Regions from separate parts of the Homo sapiens genome. Here region 1 is linked to region 2. Evidence: promoter capture Hi-C in 16 types of primary human blood cells and fetal thymus (Javierre and others, 2016). All regions are on one chromosome and are shown on one strand. Each heading gives the region's core, a stretch centred on a gene start or on the middle of the fragment in contact. The rest is flanking DNA. Distances are from core to core; before and after follow the strand shown.

The links. The method cuts DNA at HindIII sites, captures the fragments that hold promoters and counts their contacts. A CHiCAGO score of 5 or more calls a contact.
Region 1: a contact is called between a fragment that was not itself captured here and the fragment with the promoter of MYOZ1 in region 2, in 2 of 17 cell types (naive CD8 T cells and fetal thymus). The highest score is 5.4, in naive CD8 T cells.

The regions. Positions count from the first base shown.
Region 1 is chr10:73,353,193-73,359,792 of GRCh38, reverse strand. It overlaps CFAP70 (cilia and flagella associated protein 70), which reads left to right and starts at 929. Exons shown (of 28, transcript NM_001367801.1): 1 at 929-1,015; 2 at 4,958-5,059; 3 at 6,051-6,237. The coding sequence starts at 4,997. RefSeq lists enhancers at 735-1,260, 1,105-1,324, 1,261-1,786. The HindIII fragment of the contact is 242 bases long and covers 1,695-1,936 here.
Region 2 is chr10:73,640,083-73,646,955 of GRCh38, reverse strand. MYOZ1 (myozenin 1) reads left to right here and starts at 5,482. Exons shown (of 6, transcript NM_021245.4): 1 at 5,482-5,545. SYNPO2L (synaptopodin 2 like) reads left to right here. Exons shown (of 4, transcript NM_001114133.3): 4 at 1-2,070. The coding sequence ends at 238. RefSeq lists an enhancer at 2,809-2,858. The HindIII fragment of the contact is 20,057 bases long and covers 717-6,873 here.

The DNA.
Region 1 (6,600 bases), core at 566-3,065, 280 kb after region 2:
CTCTGTAATCAAGTAGTATTCCATGGAAGCATTCCAAAATCACGCCAGTATTCTATGCCTCATAGAACATCTACCCACCAGCCTTAGCGTCCATTGAAGACTCCTGCCTGAGTCATCCTCCTCAGTAGTTGTCAAATGGTAGTTCTCTATTTCCATCCTTCTCGCTACACTTCTGGGTTGGCATCCTACTTTGAAAGAGTTTTCCTTTTTCTCTGTATCAACACGGACTTGCATATTCCTATTTTATTCAATGGGTTGTAATCCGTTATCGTCGTTGTTTACTTCATGCTCAAATTGTCCCTTATTTGGCCCATGGGAGTCCCTTCAAGCTGGCTCTTAACACTGCAACAATTTAAAGTATATATACTGCTAAAATTCATCCGTGTTGTGTGTATGGCTGCAGTTCATTAACTTTGACTGCTTGTAATATGCCATTTTGTGAATATGCCACAGTTTATTGGTCCACTCATCCACTATTCCTTCGACGGGCACTTGGGTTGTTTCCAGGTTATTGCTATTGTGTTTTGCTATTCTAGCTCTTTAATGTTAAATTTTGAATATTAAAAATTTGTATTAACATCATAAACTTCAGGTCTGTTTATTGTACAAATATTGAGCACCTAGAAGCAGGGTCATTTTGCACTCTCATCAACAGGGCGTGACGGGCTCATTTAAAAAATATTGCATATTTCACGGAGAAATATTTAAATGATGTTTTCAAATCAGTTTAATAAAGGCCTTTTTCTTTAAACTTCCTTTTGCTTTTTTCCCTCCTATTATAGAGAAATATTGAAATCAAAGAGTCGAGAAAGCAAAATGTAAAGGTGGAAACCTATGCACTTAAACCCAACTCTTGGCAAGGTAAAGCATCCGCGGAAACAGCAGGCTCTCGAAGTGAGGAGGCTGCAGCCGGCGCTAGGGCGCAGGCGCAGAAGCTCAGCGTCTCGCTCCCTGCTCCCGGCCCCAGAGGGTTATCGCGAGTCTTGGAATAAACTTGCTCGTGCGATGGCCAAAAGTAAGTTCTCGCGAGAGGTAGTTGGTTGCTATAGTTGTCAAAAACATAACTGAGGCTGCTGCAGGTAAGACAGTGATCCCTCCTGAAGAAACTCTCTCTTCCCGGCCTCCCCACCTCAGCCCTGCGGCCACACCACAGCCGTCACCCCGATCTTCTGCTCCCTTAGCTAAGGCCAGGCTGAAAACCCCGATATTTAGACCGAAAAGCCGCTGGCCCGGCCAGGTGCGGACTCTGCCGCCAACCCCAGCCCGGCGACCTCCACAGGAGCGCGGACGTAGACCTTCCTTTACCGCTTCTCGTCGGAGGCCTCCTCATTCTGCGCTGACTGCGCTTGTCCCCAGACCAGACTCAGTCACATCGCCTCCTTCGTCTAACCTTTTTCTCACTGGACTCTCCCCTTGCAGCTTCTTCCGAGCAGATGACAAGAAATGCGTGCCTTGCCGGGGGCAACAAGAGTCCCCACCCTAGCTGCCCTGACTATAACTTTAGTCCTATATCTTGCATTCATAATTCAAACACGACGCGAACGCCTGTTGTGTACAAGACATGGTGCCAGGCACTCTGGGCCCGTAAATATGCGTGAGACAGGTTACATGCCTTCAAGGGTGTAAATGAGCTCTCAGGACAAACGCTGCATATTAATAATACCATTTGTGCAGTGCTTCATACTTAAAAAGCTTTAATATCTTAGGGGATATTCACAATAAATGTGAAACAGGTTGGAAGTTATCCATTTTACAGAAGGTGAAACTGAGGCTTAGAGAAGTTAGGCATTTGCCTAGGGGCACATAGTTGTTAAGTAGGAAAGGTCTTTTGAATACCCAGTCTTCATAAACAGGACAGCTTGTGGTAATGCCACAAAAGACGTGTAAAGTGCTAAATGAATTCAGAGGAAAGGCAAGTTTTTCCGACTGGGAAGCTTCATGGACTAGGAAGCATTTGAGCTGGATTTTAAAGGATGAGTAGGATTTGCTGTAGAGACGGAGTGAGGAGAAAGGGAGAGATAATTCCAGGGGGAAGGAAAAATGCAAAGGTTCAAAAGCGACTAAATGCAGGTAATCTTTGAAAAATACTAAGCAAGAGCATAAGCTAGAAGAGGGGAGTTGACTGGCACTGCAAGATCCTAGAAAGCCCTGAATGTAGTACTACATTTAACTACAGTTAAACTGTAGTGTTACAGTTTATTTGGTAGGTGAGAGGGAACAAGACAGTGATACGATCAGATCTGTACTTTAATAAGGTATTTATCTGCTTGTCTCTTCTCATTTTCTCCCTATTTCTTCTTACTCCACCACTGCAAGCTACTTGCTACTTGCTATGTGTGTTGTTTTGCCTCTGAACGTTTTAAAATCTGTTCCCTTTCTTGGAATATCCTTCCCTTTATTAAGACATAGTTCCAGCGTACTTCCTCCAAGATTTTCCTGGCATGCATATGTATTCTCAAATCCAGCTAGGTCCCAGCTTCATTCAGCACTTCCTTGCTGTATGACTGCTGGTAAGATAACAAACTTCTCTGAAGCTCAATTTTTTTCAATCAAATAGAGATTTAAGAATCTCTTAGAAGGGAGGCTACATTTAAGATAATAAATGCGAAGCACACTTGGCACACTGGCTATAATCAGTTAATTTCCTTGCTTCTCTCATTCTTTTTATTTGTAAAAGAAAAAATAAATTTCCACCCCCCTTTTCCTCCCTGTGTGTTTCACTCCTCCCTTCTTTCCTCTGTCAGAGCACCTGTCTCACAGATTATGACTCCTGGTCTAGTTACACGTCTCTCGTCCTCACTAGATTTTAAATTTCTTGAGGTTAGAGAGTTCACATCTTATCTCTTGTATCCTCAGCACCCATCACAGTGCCAAGCTTAACAAGTTTTTTCAATGAGCAATTCTGACAAAAGCAGGATGAATTAGAGTGAGAAACTGGAGTCAGAGACACCAGTTAGGAGGCTTTTGTTACAGTCTAGCAGAAGGGTAATGAAGGCCTAATGCCATATTATTGAAAAGGAAAGAAGACTGATACAAAAGGGCATTTCAAATGTACATTTGACAAAGAAGTTGTCAGTGCCACTAAAGCCCTTAAAGAGCCCAGAAATATGTTGTTGAACAAATGATTTGACACTTTTAGGTGACTGGAAAAATGCTGGAGTAGCTGAGAAGAGGCAGGATAATTATAAAGTCTGAAGGCTGTAAGATGTTGTTTTCTCTTTTGTATCACCAAGTACACTTAGCATAGTATGTCCTCAGTAAATGTTTGAATTGAGTTAGAAAATAAGGCCTTTTCAACAGGCACAGTGGCTCATGCCTTTTAATCCCAGCACTTTGGGAGGCTGAGGTGAGTGGATTGCTTGAGCCTAGCCGTCGAGACCAGCCTAGACAGCATGGTGAAACCCTGTCTCTACAAAAAATACAAAAATTAGCTGGGCGTGGTGGCGCATGCCTGTAGTCCCAGCTACTCAGGAGGCTGAGGTGGGACAATCACTTGAGCCTGGGAGGTTGAAGCTGCAGTGAGCTGTGATCACACCACTGCACTCCAGCCTGGGTGACAGAATGAGAGCCTGAAAAAAAAAAAAAGGAAGGAAGGAGAGATAAAAGACCTTTTCCAAAAAACAAATATCCAATTTATTATCGAAATTGTTTGTGCCCTTAGTATTGTAAAATTGACAGTATATCTGACTAAATAAGAAATACATTAAGACCTTTTCCAGTGGACTACCATTTTGTGTGGCTGCTTCTTTCCTGCTCTCAAAATATATTTTTGTAAAACTGAGAAGTTAAATAATGTTTGAAGGGAGCTTTGCAGATTAAAAAAAACGGTTACCAGAGAACACTGTGAACAGTGTATGGCAGCAGTCCCCAACCTTTTTGGCACCAGGGACCAGTTTCGTGGAAGACAATTTTTCCACAGACTGGGGGCAGCGGGGATGATTCAACCACATTACATTTACTGTGCACTTTATTTCTATTAGTATTACACGGTAATATATAATGAAATTTTTTTGTTTTGAGACGGAGTCACTCTTTTGCCCAGGCTGGAGTTCAGTGGTGTGATCTCAGCTCACTGCAACCTCTGCCTGCCGTGTTCAAGCGATTCTCCTGCCTCAGCCTCCCAAGTAGCTGGGACTTACAGGCATGTGCCATCACACCTGGCTAATTTTTGAATTTTTTAGTAGAGATGGGGTTTCACCGTATTGGACAGGCTGATCTCGAACTCCTGACTTGGTGATCCGCCCGCCTCGCCTTCCAAAGTGTTGGGATTACAGGCGTGAGCCACCGTGCCTAGCCTATATAATGAAATATTATACAACTCACCATAATGTAGAATCAGTGGGAGCCCTGAGCTTGTTTTCCTGCAGCTAGACAGTCCTATCTGGGGGTGATGGGAGACAGTGACAAATCAGGCATTCGATTCTTATAAGGAGTGCACAACCTAGATCCTTTGCATGCATCAGTTACAATAGGGTTCGCACTCCTGTGAGAATATAATGCTGCCACTGATCTGACAGGAGAGAGAGCTTAGGTGGTAATGCAGGTGATGCAGAGTGGCTGTAAATAGAGATGAAGCTTTGCTTGCTCGCCTGCTGCTTACCTCCTGCTGTACAGCCCAGTTCCTGACAGGCCACGGGCTGGTACTGGTTCATGGTTCGGGGTGGGGACCCCTGATGTAGGGTATGGGAGGTCAAGGTGTTCCTACTTTGTCTTGTGATACTTTGTGCTTAATGGGTTAGTTACCTGTATAAACATCTTTAGCGCTACCAGTGAAATCATCCTTGTGACCAGCTCCCTAAAGCACTGCCTGTCCAACAGCAAAGGTTGGATATGGGGAATAAAACAGTGCTGGACTATGGCATTTCCTTAGGTTTTCCCTGGTATTGGTTATGATGGAATATGGGTACTTGTGCAGCTGTGGTACATGAGGGGACAGGTTGATTCATTCTGTTTACAGAGACCAAAGAAAACAGAGGGACTTTTCCCAGTTGGTGATATGGAGCAAGTGCCATCAGCAGGCAGACTCGTGCAGATCACCGTGACAGAGGGATATGATTTGGTAAAGTTACTTTTGGAAATTTACAAAAATCCTTAGTTTGGGAGTACCTGCAGGAGGAATGGAATTTTGCTTCATTCTCTACCTCCAAACCTCCTGGCTTTATGTAGCAGTGGCATTCCGCCTCAGTGTTCCTTATTGTTAGTCTTAATCTCCAAGTCACATTACTGTGTGTCTCAAATACCCGGCAATTTGAATACTAAATTTAACAGGATGAAAGAAACAGTGGTTTTAGTTTCCCTAGACAGCAGTTCACGTATAATTTTTTTCCCTTTCTCCTGAGAAGGATCTGAATTCTTCCAGAGTTTCCCTTGTGATTAATTCTATTTGATTAATTAAAAAAACAACAACAATGTGATGTACTAAAAATTAGGAATATGATGAAATGGGAAAATATTCAGTATATTAAGTTTAAAAAGATCATTCCAAAGAGGATGTAATTAATGAGCTCCACTTTGTTTTAAAATGCATATATAAAAATGTATCTATGTGTGCATGTATGGGTACACACACGTACATCCATATATTCACAGCAGAACACTAGAAAATATATTCTAAAATATTAATAATGCTTGCATGTTACAGTAAGATTGTAGGTAATTAATTTTCTTACTTTTAAAAATGTTCCTCAGTAGCTTGCAGTGAGCTGAGATCGCGCCACTGCACTCCAGCCTGGGTGACAGAGCGAGACTCCGTCTCAAAACAAACAAACAAACAGAAAAAAAAATGTTCCACAGTATACTTTTATTATTAGGTGAAACACAATAAATGTTATTTTCAAGACTCCAACATAACAGCACTTCAATGGAATGTTGCATTTAAGTAAAACTAGATTTGTTTAATGATTTTTCTACCTATTCCTTTTGTATTTGTGATGTTGCTCGTTAGGAAAAAATGAAAAATGCTATTTAGCCCAAATCAAAATGGGTTACCAGATGTGTGGGAAAATTCTCTATTTGAATATAATTGTAAAGTGGTGTGTTTCTGCCAACAGAAAGGTTTTAAAGGAGATACTCCAGTTACCTTTATTCGAGCAGAATTCAATCAAGTGGTTCTGGGAGACTCTGCAAAAATTACTGTTTCTCCAGAAGGAAGTGCAAAATACAACTTCACTAGCAGTTTTGAGTTTAATCCTGAAGGAGGAATCACTTCAGATGACCTCGCTCACAAACCTGTGTTCTGTAAGTCCTTGTGGTTCTAAAAATCAATGTCCCGATTGCCTTCTTCCCTATCATGTTGGATGGGAAAAGCACAACCAAAACATTCTTTTAAACATGTAACTAAAATCATGAGAAAGAAAGGACAGTTCCTTTGTTCCCAGAAGCAAGGCAGGAACTGAAACGTGAAAATCTTGAACAGCTGCCATTGGTGTGTATGTGTTAGTGGAAGTGTGCAGGGAGAAGGCAGTACTCCAAAACCTAGGGGCTTGGGTTTTAATGCTCTCACAAGGACAGAAAACCTTTGGCTGTTGTTGATGGGGGAATAGAGACTGAGATCACCTCCCCATCACAAGTTAAGACTCTCAGAAAGTATGGACCAGGAAA
Region 2 (6,873 bases), core at 4,233-6,732:
AGAACCCCTGGCTCCCACTGTGCTTGCCCCCCGAGCAGCCACTACACTGGATGAGCCCATCTGGAGAACAGAACTGGCCTCAGCCCCTGTTCCTAGCCCAGCCCCTCCTCCAGAGGCTCCCAGGGGCCTTGGGGCTTCTCCCAGCTCCTGCGGTTTCCAGGTAGCCAGGCCCCGATTTTCAGCCACCAGAACAGGATTGCAAGCTCATGTGTGGAGGCCTGGGGCAGGGCACCAGTGAACAGGCACAGGTCCCAGGACCAAGGAGAGGTGGAACATCCAGTTCCTAAAGTTGCTTCTCCTACCCTATCCCATCCCCTGTCACGCATCTGGAAGCTAAATTGCCTCCTGCCAGAGATGGTTTCCAAGTTGATGTCCCCTTCCCCCACCTTCCTCCTCACTCTCTACCTCCCTGCCGCTTTCCAACCAAGTATGTCTGCTTTGGTATCTTTGCCTCTCTTTGTCTCTGCATTTCCTTTCCTGGATCTCTGTCTTTATTTCCAGGCTTCTCCACCCATATTCCTCCACAGATCTCTCTTCCTTGACATTTGTGCTTTTCTCCCTGGGCCTCATTTTAATGTTCAGTGAGAAGTAAACAGAGCAGAAGTGACCACTGGGACTTCAGGCAAGAAGCTCACCACCAGGCACACAGCAAAGGGACTGAACTGACCCCTGTTTGCACTAAGCCACCCCCACCCCCCACTCTGCTTTCCCAAGCTTGACTGGCATATACCTAGGCCTGTGTGTGTGTGTGTGTGTGTGTGTGTGTGTGTGTGTGTGCTCTTCCGTCTAAGGCATGAATAAGAGGGGAGGTCAAAATAAAGACCCAATCTGAGGCCGGGCACGGTGGCTCACGCCGGTAATCCCAGCACTTTGGGAGGCCGAGGCGGGCGGATCACGAGGTCAGGAGATCGAGACCATCCTGGCTAACACGGTGAAACCCCATTTCCACTAAAAATACAAAAAATTAGCTGGGCGTGGTGGCGAGCGCCTGTAGTCCCAGCTACTCGGGAGGCTGAGGCAGGAGAATGGCATGAACCTGGAAGGCGGAGCTTGCAGTGAGCTGAGATTGCGCCACTGCACTCCAGCCTGGGCGACGGAGCGAGACTCTGTCTCAAAACAAACAAACAAACAAAAGACCCAATCTGAGTCTTATCGTTGTACTGATAGAAGGGTCAGATATCCCCACATGGAGTTGAGTGGGAGAAAGAGATTCACTAGAGAATAACTCCTTAGAGACCAATGTCTGTAGCAGGTGTACAGCATCTTGTGAAAGTTATGGAGCATGAAAAGACTGAAGGGCCAGGACAGTTTGCATGGGCTGAGTTATACCAGCTAGACCAGGAATAGAACAAAGAATTCTATACCTCAGGATTTCAAAAAGTTAGCAACTTGAGAGGCCAGTGCTGAGCAACCCAGTACCCAGGAAATGAAAAAAAGAAAGAAAATTCCCTCCGAGAATGAACAAATCATTGGCTTCATTGCCTCATGAGCTTGAGAGAAAGGAGAAGAGAGCCAGAGTGTGGCAAGTGAGGCCAAAATCAGAAGCATGGCAGAAATGAGTGTAAGTGATTGAGCCACAGACAGAAGTGTGGCGAGGGACAATGCCATATTGGGAGAAGGTAAAGTTGAGTAACAAGAAACCAACCGTGTGTGAGAGGGGGATTGGAAAAAAATTTGAGGGAGAAGAATGTTAGAATGGAAGGGAATGATGGTGGAAGGGAGGTGTGAGGGTGTGTGCTGAGTGTTGAAAGAACGGTTGGTGTCTGTGTGATTTTCCTTGAGTCTGTTCTTCAGTGTGTCTTCTGCAGCTTGCCATGACTGCCTGGGAAAGAGTAGGGAAATACCCAGAGCCAAAACCTCCTTTCAGTCCCACCCCATCCCTCAAAACCCCAGCTATTGCTTCTTTTCAGCTTCAGGTCCTGATCTCCAATCTTAGTATGGACTCCCTTCTCACCAAGACCACCACCAGCTACGTTTGCTGTGTAATCTGGAAAGTGATAATTTCCTTTGCTTGTTGGGTGTGAGTCACAATACTTTGGTTTGTGCACAAGAATAAATTTATGCCCCATACCTTCTGTTGCTGTTATCTTCTAGTTTTATTCCTAAATCCTGATCTCTCCTTAATCTTCTTTAACCCATTCCCCTGATCTGATTTCTGATCTGTCTCTTTTCCTGCCCTCCCATTTTTCATCCTTTTGCCCTTTGTTCCCAGGTCTTTTGCTCTTTTATACAAATTCTGTCCTGCTTTGATTTAGCCACCTCCATCACTCTTCTTGGTTCCCTCTCCCCACAGTCTTCATCCAAGTTCTCCCCTTTCCCTCCCTTGCCTCATACTTTCTAGGTAAGGCTTCAGTTCACAGAACTCAGAGAAGTTGGAAAGGCCCTCTGAGCCCTTTGCTATCAACATTTCCTCGCTCCTTAGAGGAAGCAACCATATTAAACAGTCTCTGGGAAGTAAATGAAGAGAAAGCAATGGCTGGAGGGCTGGAGGGGAAGGTGGGATGGGAGAGGGAAGAATAAAGCTGAATTGAGACTACTAAAGAAGGGAGGGCGTTGGAGGTAGGTGAGAATTAGACTTCAGAGAAGGAAAGTGCCATTGCTCTGATTCTGCCAGCAGAGGGCACATTTGTGCCAATAATCAGACCCAGGCCGCAGACTCTTCCAAGTGCACTGTCTTAGAATTCCAAAAAAAGATCTCAGAGACCATAGGTTAAATAGCCTGTCTTCACCCACTCAGTCGTTTTGGGTACTCAGTTGAAGGAGATCAAACTTTCAGTTTGTTTTTGTTTTTGAGGGTGAGGGTGGTAGTGATGATGAAGTCACCTTTAGCTATTTATAGTTCTTCTTTTTTTTTGAGATGGAGTCTCCCTCTGTGGCTCAGGCTGGAGTGCAGTGGTGCGATCTCAGCTCACTGCAACCTCTGCCTCCTGGGTTCAAGTGATTCTCCTGCCTCAGCCTCCCAAGTAGCTGGGATTACAGGCACGCACCGCCATGCCTGACTAGTTTTTGTATTTTTAGTAGAGACTGGGTTTCACCATGTTGGCCAGGCTGGTCTTGAACTCCTGACCTCAAGTGATCCACCCACCTCGGCCTCCCAAAGTGCTGTGATTACAGGCATGAGCCACCACGCCCGGCCTATTTTATCTTCTAATTGCTTCCTTGGGTTGGGAGGGGATGGAGGAGGACAAAAGATGAGGGGTCTGGAGGCATAACTAGCCTGGGCAGAAGCCAACTGTGAGGGGATACCTTTTAGGGTCTCCACAGGATGGAAAAAGGACATGGTCAGGAAGAGTAAAGAGCTCAGAAGGGGACAAAGGAAGTTACAAAAGCCACTTCCTGGTGCGTGCCTGTAGTCCCAGCTACTCAGAGGCTGAGGTAGGAGGATCACTTGTGCCCAGGTGTTCAAGTCCAGCCTGGGCAACATAGTGAGACCCCCATCTCTAAAATAAAGAAAGAAATAATTTTTTAAAAAGCCAGCTAGGCACAGTGGCTCACGCCTATAATCCTAGCACTTTGGGAGGCTAAGACAGGAGGATTGCTTGAGCCCAGGTGTTTGAGACCAGCCTGGGAAACATAGTGAAACCCTGTCTCTACAAAACATATGAAAATTAGCTGGGCGTGGTGGCATGTACCAGCAGCCCTAGCTACCTGGGAGGCTGAGGTCGAAGGATTACCTGAGCCTGGGGAGGCTGAGGTTGCAGTGAGCCAAAATTGTGCCACTGCACTTCAGCACAGGCAACAGAGTGAGACCCTGTCTCAAATAAATAAATAAATAAATAAAGCCACTTCCTCAGGTAGCAGCAACAGGGTTGTGGTGGCTGCAGCAGAAGTGCTGCAGCAACTGGTTCCAGAATCTAAGCAGAAGGTGGAGGAAGATCATGCAGCTACTGAAGAAGGGCCTGGGGAAATGATAGGCTTTCCCCAAAGGGGCTTTCAAGCCTGTGGCCCTGCCCAGAGACTCCGCTGGAACAGTACAAATGGCACAGTCCAGATCCTATGTGGTATGTGCTCCCTTTGCAGGAAATCTCAAGTAGAAACCTCAGAGAGCCTGTAATCCCAGCACTTCGGGAGGCTGAGATGGATGGATCACGAGGTCAGGAGATCGAGACTATCCTGGCTAACACGGTGAAACCCCATCTCTACTAAAAATACAAAAAAAAATTTAGCCGGGCGTGTTGGTGGGCGCCTGTAGTCCCAGCTACTCGGGAGGCTGAGGCAGGAGAATGGCGTGAACCTGGGAGGTGGAGCTTGCAGTGAGCCGAGATTGCGCCACTGCACTCCAGCCTGGGCAACAGAGCGAGACTCCGTCTCAAAAAAAAAAAAAAAAAAGAAGAAGAAAAGAAACCTCAGAGAGCCTATATGTGCTTCTCAGGGAGACATCGATGTCTATCCCGCACAGCAGGTTGAACTGAGCATCTCAACAGCAAATGGAGGTTAAAAGGCAGATCCTGGCTGGGCGTGGTGGCTAGAGAATAACTCCTTAGAGACCAGATCCTGGCGGTGGCTCACGCCTGTAATTCCAACATTTTGCGAGGCCAATGTGGGTGGATCACCTGAGGTCAGGAGTTTGAGACCAGCCTGGCCAACGTGGTGAAACCCCGTCTCTACTAAAAATACAACAATTAGCCGGGCATGGTGGTGGACACCTGTAATCCCAGCTACTCAGTAGGCTGAGGCAGGAGAATTGCTTGAACCCAGGAGGTGGAGGTTGCAGTGAGCCGAGATCGCACCACTGCACTCCAGCCTGGGCAAAAAGAGCGAAACTCCATCTCAAAAAAAAAAAAAAAAAAATGCAGATCCAAGTGTTTGTCTTTTATTAAAACTGCCAGAGCTCAAGAGGAAAGAATAGGGAGTGAGGCAGACAGAATAATTGTCAAGTCTTCCCCACATCATTCCTTTGTAGGAGGTACTGGGTTTAGTTAATTTGGTCCCTTAACCTGCCAAGATCTAGCCCTTACCGAGAAAAGACCAACCTATCCAGGAACTTTAAAAGAGCAGTTCCACTGTGAAGACTTCCCTTTTTGTCCCCAAATATAGCACTTTAAGCCCTCCCTGCTCCAAATACACCCACAGGTCTCTCCACTCTGCCCTGGATTGGCTCTGTGTGGCCCTCAGGGCATGTTCCCCAGACTCTCTCTCTCTGACTGAATTCCTATCCAATACTTGCTGTCTACTTCCTGTCTCCCTCTCAGTCTTCAGTTTCTCCCTAAGTGCTTCTTTGGATCTCAGGCTCTAGGTGCAATGTGAAGGGGAGTCCCTGGGCAGACTGATCCCTGGCTCAGACAGTTCAGTGGGAGAATCCCAAAGGCCTTTTCCCTCCTTCCTGAGCCTCCGGGCAAGGAGGGAGGGATCTTGGTTCCAGGGTCTCAGTACCCCCTGTGCCATTTGAGCTGCTTGCGCTCATCATCTCTATTAATAACCAACTTCCCTCCCCCACTGCCAGTGCTGCCCCCACGCCTGCCCAGCTCGTGTTCTCCGGTCACAGCAGCTCAGTCCTCCAAAGCTGCTGGACCCCAGGGAGAGCTGACCACTGCCCGAGCAGCCGGTAAGTCTCCAGCTCTATCGTTAGAAAGGCTGGAGCCCACTGTGTTGACTTCTGTGTCTGTGTCTACAATTGTGATTCTTGATCCTGGGGGAGTCTCCCCTCTCCTCATCTATGCTCAGCTCCCAGCTGTCCAGTTGGAAGGAGAGGGGAAGGAGAGTTGGAAGGAGAGGGGCCCAGGAGGTTGGGGGGAATGGAGATGTCGGGGGAGGCACTGGAAGAATGGGAAGGGAGACCCCACTAAGTCAGTAGAGTTGCAGATGTATTTTTTGAGACAGGACTTAGAAGAGGACAGCATTTCACTGAGTGCCAACTTCTCTTAAGAAGGGATTGGAGTCCATCTTATCCCAGTTTGTCCCTTTCCATTGCCAGATCCTATTACTATGTTTCTGCCCCACCTCAATTCCCCACTGCTATGATATTGCTGAATTGACGTGTCGGGATTTGAATGCTCCCTACCCTTCCCAGTTCCACACCTGCCTCCACTCTGGGGTCTGTGGCGGGAGTGATTGCAGGAGCAGGGCCATGACTTCCCAGGCCATGTTCCAGCTGGCCTGATGAAGGAGCAACAACCTCTCCTTCCTATGGAGAGTGTTTTTGGCTGAATCTCCTCAACCCTGGCAGAATATTTCTCTGTCCTCCTGGGGACTGGGGGAAGACTGAGGAGAGACCAGAGCCTGGAATCACAGCCCCAGTCTGATATCCCAGTGCAAATAAAAACTTCAAATCATGCCAAGCCAATGAAACCTGGGTGCATTGCCCTGCTTGTGTTATTGTTTTTTAAACACTCCCCACACCTAGCTATGTTCCTAATTCCTGCACTGACTCTATGAAAAACAGCTCACAACAGGTTGGTAGACAACAGGGGCTGGTGTGCATCTATACTTCCTGTCCTGTATCCCAAGAAAAGAGAAGCCCTAAAGCGCAAGTTTTCACCTTTTGGGGAAATACATGCTTCTTTGAAAATCTGGGTCAGGTGAAGTGGCTCACCCCTGTAATCTCAGCACTTTGGGAGGCAGGAGGACTGCTTGAGCCCAGGAGTTTGAGACCAGCCTGGGCAACATGGCAAAACCACATTTCTACAAAAAATACAAAAATTAGCCAGGCACGGTGGTGCGCACCTATAGTCCCAGCTACTTGGGAGGCTGAAGTTGGAGGATCACCTGAGCCCAGGGAGGTTGAGGCTGCAGTGAGGCATGATTGTGCCATTGCACTCCAGCCTGGGCGACAGAGTGAGATCCTGTCTCTAAAAAAGAAAAAAAAATTTTTTTGTCCCCTCAAGCCCTTAAACCCAGGTTAAGAAGTGCTGCTCTCCTACAGACACTCACTCT